2 separate regions of the Homo sapiens genome follow, and region 1 is linked to region 2. The links are contacts of gene promoters, found by promoter capture Hi-C in blood cells and fetal thymus (Javierre and others, 2016). All regions are on one chromosome and are shown on one strand. The core of a region is centred on a gene start or on the middle of the fragment in contact, and the rest is flanking DNA. Distances in the headings are between cores, read along the strand shown.

Region 1 (2,769 bases), core at 58-2,557, 180 kb after region 2:
AGGCGCCCGCCACCACACCTAGCTAATTTTTTGTATTTTTAGTAGAGATGTGGTTTCACCCTGTTGGCCAGGCTGGTAGCAAATTAAAGAGAGTAGTAAAACATTATATGTTGCCAGTAAATTAGCTGGAGTCGTTCTGCAGTTCAGGGTGATTGAGGTATCTCCAGTGGGTCATTGCTATAAGCACTGGGCAGTGTGAGTCCTGGCCTCACATTTGGTAGCAGGCCTTCTGTATCTGTCAACCCCCCAGGCCGGCCTCTCAGCCCTCAATGAAAGAAAGCTAATTGTAGAGTCAAGAATATGACCTGCTATAATGGTTCGATCCTGGGAGAAGGGACTCCACAGCCTGGTGAGGACCCCTCTCACCACCTCTGAGGATCAGCAAGTCTTTGAAGGTCAGTACCAAGTGGTGGTTAAGACCTGGACTGTGGATCCAGATGTGCCTGGATTCAACCCTGGCTGTAGACATTAGGCATGTTATTAACTTCTCTGAGCCTCAGTTTCCCTAGCTGTGAAATCAGAGTCACTGTGAAGACTGAATGAGAAAACTCACACGTGTGGTTCCTGGCCCAGAACAAATCTTCAACCAGTGGTTATAACTATTACTCTGTGTGTCTAGCCTATATCTTTTCTGCTGCAGTGAAAGTTAGTTATTCGATGAAAGGGAGCAACCCACTGAGGGGGATGGTCTGGGTGCCTGGATGCTGTGGTCAATGGGTCGGCATCACACCCAGCACCCTGCCCAACACAGACACCGCCCCCACCCCCCCACCCATAGCTGCTGCCACTGCCTTCCTAAGAACAGTGACTTCCTGTTTTCTAAGTTTTTACCCTGCAATGTCATCACCAGTTGTGCCTGAGCCTGGGGGTGGAGCTGGCAGCAGCAGGACTCAGGGCTCAAAGTTGGGGACTCAAAGGAAGGAAGGTTGGCGAGTAGAAAGCTGGCCACTCCTACCTGGATCATGAGCTACTGTGATTCATATTGATTCCATCAGTGCCTACAAACTGAGCGCTTACCAGGTACCAAGCCCTTCCCATTTGAGTGTCACACACCCTGGGAGGTCGCTGTGATTACTCAGTGATTACACAGTAGCAACACCAGGACTTGGATTGCAGTTGTCGCCTTCGTAGGATTCATTCTTACCTGCCGTGCTTCCTATCAAAGTGGAAACAAGCTGGACGGGGGTGAGGTTTGAAAGGCTGCCCTATAGAAATTGGAGGATCTGTGTGATTTGTGCTTCTGAAGGCAGAACTAGGTTCAAAGTTTTTTTTTTAACTCTGAAAATTAGAGCTCTCCACCAGTGATTGCTGGGTGCTGAGCTTCCTGTCACCAGAGATATTCAAGCAGAGGCCAGAAGTGCCTACCAAAGAAGAAACTCCTGAAAGAGGTGGGAAGCTCTCTATATGACAGGAACCCCAGAGGCACTGGGATAAGGTAGATTGAGAAGGGACTTTGCATCAGATGCACTCAGAAAATCTCTAGCCATGTGACCTATTGGAGCTGCAACGTCATTATCTGCAAAATAGAATTGGTAATAATTCTGCCCGTATTGTGCAAGGTTGTTCTGAGGATTAAGCCAGATCATGCAAGTGCAAAGAGCTCTCTAAACTGTATGCTTCATGCATGTGTTACATCATTATCATTTTGTGAAGTGAGGAGTTCTCAGAAAGTCTACACACTACTGAGCTCCCACTGTGTGCCAGGCACTTTGTACACACCCATTATCTCTTTTTATTTTTTTTGAGACGGAGTCCCACTCTGTTGTCCAGGCTGGAGTGTAGTGGCGTAATCTCCGCTTACTGCAAGCTCCACCTCCTGGGTTCACACCATTCTCCTGCCTCAGCCTCCTGAGCAGCTGGGACCACAGGTGCCTGCCACCACGCCCGGCTAATTTTTTTGTATTTTTTAGTAGAGACGGGGTTTCACCATGTTAGCCAGGATGGTCTCGATCTCCTGACCTCATGATCCGCCCGCCTCGGCCTCCCAAAGTGCTGGGATTATAGGCGTGAGCCACCGCGCCTGGCCCCCATTATCTGTTTTTATCTTCAAACACCCCTGAAGAGTGGGTATCCCCATCCTGGGCTGGGAAACCTGGCCAGGTTCTGTCCCCAACCGTGGCATGATGGTGTGGGAGGTCAGAGGGCCATCCCCTGCTGTCACTCCTTGTACCTGCAGAGCCTCTTAGCATGCGCCACTGTGCAGGGCACCCCACAAACTTTACCTCATTTCTCTGCACCCGTGAAATCGGTCTTGTCAAAGCCCTTCTGCAGATAGGAGAATTGACGCTCAGAGAGGTTAAGAAAACTGTTCCAAAACAAGCCAATAATGGGGCAGATTCCACATTTGAGTCTTAGAGTCTTTCTGACTCAAAGACTTATTATGTTCTTTGCTCTTCTCTAAGCCTGTGATGTGCGGGTGAGGAGGGAAAGGTGCAAATGAAACTATAAGGCACCATCTGTGCTTGCCAGAGCCAGTGGTGGGGGGCGGACTTGAAGTGGAACGTTTACAAGCCGTTGTGACTAAGTGTCAAAAGTGGGCAAAATGGCAAGGGCTGTGAAATCAGAGGTAGGTGGAAACTCCGGATCCTGAGCCCATAGGTCAGCTGCATCGAAGCCATAAGGCTAAGAGAAGTACCTGGAGTCAGGAGACCCAGGAATTCCCTTCCAGCTTTGCCACTAACCTGCAGGTGTCCTTGGTGAAGTTGCTTCATTCCTCTGATCTCAGTTTATCCACCTGTGAATTGGGCCCAAAAGTAGCCCCCTGTTTGT
Region 2 (2,944 bases), core at 263-2,762:
GAGGCCAAGGCTTAGAGGATCACTTGAGCCCAGGAGTTCAAGACCAGCATGGGTAATATAGTGAGAACTTGTCTCTACAAAAAATTTTAAAACTAGCCAGGCATGGTGGTACACACTGGTAGTCCCAGCCACTTGGGAGGCTGAGGTGGGAGGATCCTTTGAGCCTGGGAGGCAGAGGTTGCAGTGAGCTGAGATTGTGCCACTGCACTCCAGCCTGGGTAACAGAATGAGACCCTGTCTCAAAAGAAAAAAATAAAAAGACCACCAGGGCCCAGGCACAGAGCCTGGAGCGGGGAAGAGATAGCGGAGTTAACTGTGAATCCTGATTGCACTGACCACAGTCTAGTGAGCAACACATGTTTCCTTTTGAATATGAGTGGGAATCACCTTTAAAACTATATAACATTTGCATCTTCTCAAAAGCCCCAGGTCCTACTAAGATTGACTTAGGGCTACATATCAGGTCTCATTTTCAAGGAGGAAACACAGGGAAGCCTCAAGATGTGCAGAAGAGAGGGATGTGGGGAATACACCCAACCACTCCTCTGCTGAGGTTGGAACAGAACAAGGAAAGTCCCCGGACCTCCTCTCAGCAGGCAGAGAAGTGCGGGGCCTCCCTCTGGCAAAGCCTGCAGATGTGGCCAGCATACCTCCATACACACAGCTTCAGAGGCAAGGGTGTCCAAGGGAGTCTTAAGTTTTATCAGAAATAATGTCATTCGACTGACCAGTAAGGGGAGCTTTCAGAAAGTTATGGAAGAAGATGCGACAGACACAGGAAGGACTTCAGAAGCAAGAAGACAACTGGACTCTCTAAAATGCCACTCCGAAAGCGAAAAGGGAAGCCCACAGACCCACGAAGACGTGCTGGCCTCGTGTTGCCAGTTCTGTTTCTCTTTCAATACCCATCTCTTCAGATTGAAGGGCTTCTGCCTTCTTGCAGTTTTTGCTGACACGTTTACCCATTTACAAACCTTGGCTGCACCTAACTTTTTTTTTTTTTTTTTTTTTTTTTTTTTTTTAGCATTTAAGTTCCTAGCCAAAATACCCGGGCCTCTAGGAAAGCCCTTTTCTCTCCCTCTGAGATCTTTCCTTACCAACCCCAGCCTCCCAACCCGGGTGTCCTAGGTGGGACCAGGGACGATCCTTCGGAGTTGGTCAAGGAGGCGTCGGAACAGCAGGCATTTGCCCTTCTAGTTGGCAGCAGCGATGAGCCGCGTGCTCCATGCTCAGGGCAGGGGCAGCCGCCCGGGGAAGGGGCGCCCGATACACCGCTCACCGCTCAGCCCCGCGTCTCCCTCCGGGGTCCTTTACCTCCATGTCCTTCAGGTGCCGACTCTGCGGCAGACGCACCCGCTCGCCCGGGCCGGAGCTCACGATCCCCGCTGTCCCCTCCGCTCCCGGCCGTGGCCAGTTTCGGGCTGCGGCGGGCACAGGGCGAGTGGGCGGTGGCGCGCGCCCGGCTGCGCTCGGCTGCGGGACTGCCCCGGCCGCGGGGGCCCTGCGCGAGAGAACGAGGAAGGAGGAGGAGGGAGGGAGGGAGGAAGGGGAGGGGAGGGGAGGGTGGGGAGCGGGGAGGGAGGCCGACGATCAGGGTTTAAATTTAGACGCAAATCTAAACAGATACTGTCCCTCCCAGGGCAGGACTCAAGAGCGGGAGCCACGACTCCATGTGCCCAAACATGGGGATGGGCAGCCACCGGGCCCCTCTGTCTCGCGAAGTTTCTCAGGACCCTGGGCTTTGCCACGGTCTCAGTCCTTCTCAACGTCTCCCTCCCTTAATGCGCCTTCTTTCTTTTTCCTGTCCCTTCAAGAATTAGAGTGGTCCTTTAATTCTTTTTGTTTCCTCTCTTTTCGATTTCCTTCTTTTGTGTCCATCCTTCCTGCTTTCCTTCTTCCTCTCCCTCTTTTTAAAATTGCATTACTGTCATACCTGGTTTCCCTGCAGTTCTTGGGTGGAGTTCGAGGACCCTCCCTGGTGGAAGGCGTTTGTGTTCTACCAAAAGAGGAGCCCTTCTGACCGAGGCTTCAGAGCTCAGCGTGGCGCCGACGGGACCACCTTTCCCTTCTCACCTCTTTTCCTCTCCACCTTCCAGGAAACCACTATCTATCCATCTATCCATCTATCTTCTGTATACGAGTAGAAGGAGGAGGAGGAGGAGGAAAATCAGGAATCCACGCAAAGTTTTCCAAGCTCCCTGAAGTGGTAAATCTTTTCTTCAAACCTTGCTTTGACTGATGCATTCGGTTTTGTGGGAATTTTGGCTCCCACAAGCTGCTTGCTAAAGGGCCTCGTCTCCATTCCTGTTAAATATAGCAAAGGGCAAGATGCTCAACATCTGATTCCCATAGGGCCCAGCATAGCAACCTTCCTTTAGGGCCATCCCGGCTGGGCAGCAGAGACCGCATGGGAGGGATTCGGGGACTGGAATCTGCACCAGGGTCACTCCCTGCTACCCGGATCCCGGCCCCCTTCAGACCCTTCGGCAGAGAGAAACAGGAAAATGCCTTGAGAGACCTGTGAGTGCCAGGGTATTGGCTGGGTATATGACGCCTCTGGGTTATCCCACAGCATTCTCACCCGCCCAACCCCAGCTCAACCAGGGGAGGGGAGCCCCATCAGAGGTGGGCAATGGGACAGGTGATGGTGAGCACTGTGAAGAGACATGTGGAGAAACAGTAGAGAAAAAAGGCTGAGAGTCTGCTCCTGCTACAAAGACTACCCTGATTCTGGTTATCCCGGCACCATCTTTGCACTTTCAGGCACTTAGATTGCTGCTTTGGGTACCAGTCTTAGAAATATGGCCTCCTTCCTGTCCTAGAACTTTCTAAGGCCCAACTTTCTAAAACACTGGCAGCCCTAATGCCAGAGTGGCTTCTAGTTCTTTAGCTTAGCTAAGCATAGAGGAAGACGCCTGGTTTTAGGAACAGACAGATTGAGGGC

The links. Contacts are between HindIII fragments. The CHiCAGO score rates a contact against its expected background, and 5 or more counts as called.
Region 1: a contact is called between a fragment that was not itself captured here and the fragment with the promoter of RCSD1 in region 2, in 1 of 17 cell types (non-activated CD4 T cells). The highest score is 6.4, in non-activated CD4 T cells.

The regions. Positions count from the first base shown.
Region 1 is chr1:167,445,969-167,448,737 of GRCh38, reverse strand. The region is part of intron 1 of CD247 (CD247 molecule); the gene reads left to right. Among named protein-coding and RNA genes, the nearest start is that of CD247, 71 kb to the left of the region's middle. The HindIII fragment of the contact is 5,276 bases long and covers 1-2,769 here.
Region 2 is chr1:167,628,800-167,631,743 of GRCh38, reverse strand. It overlaps RCSD1 (RCSD domain containing 1), which reads right to left and starts at 1,512. Exons shown (of 7, transcript NM_052862.4): 1 at 1,315-1,512. The coding sequence starts at 1,320. RefSeq lists an enhancer at 726-795 and silencers at 1,336-1,555, 1,576-1,655. The HindIII fragment of the contact is 3,174 bases long and covers 1-2,944 here.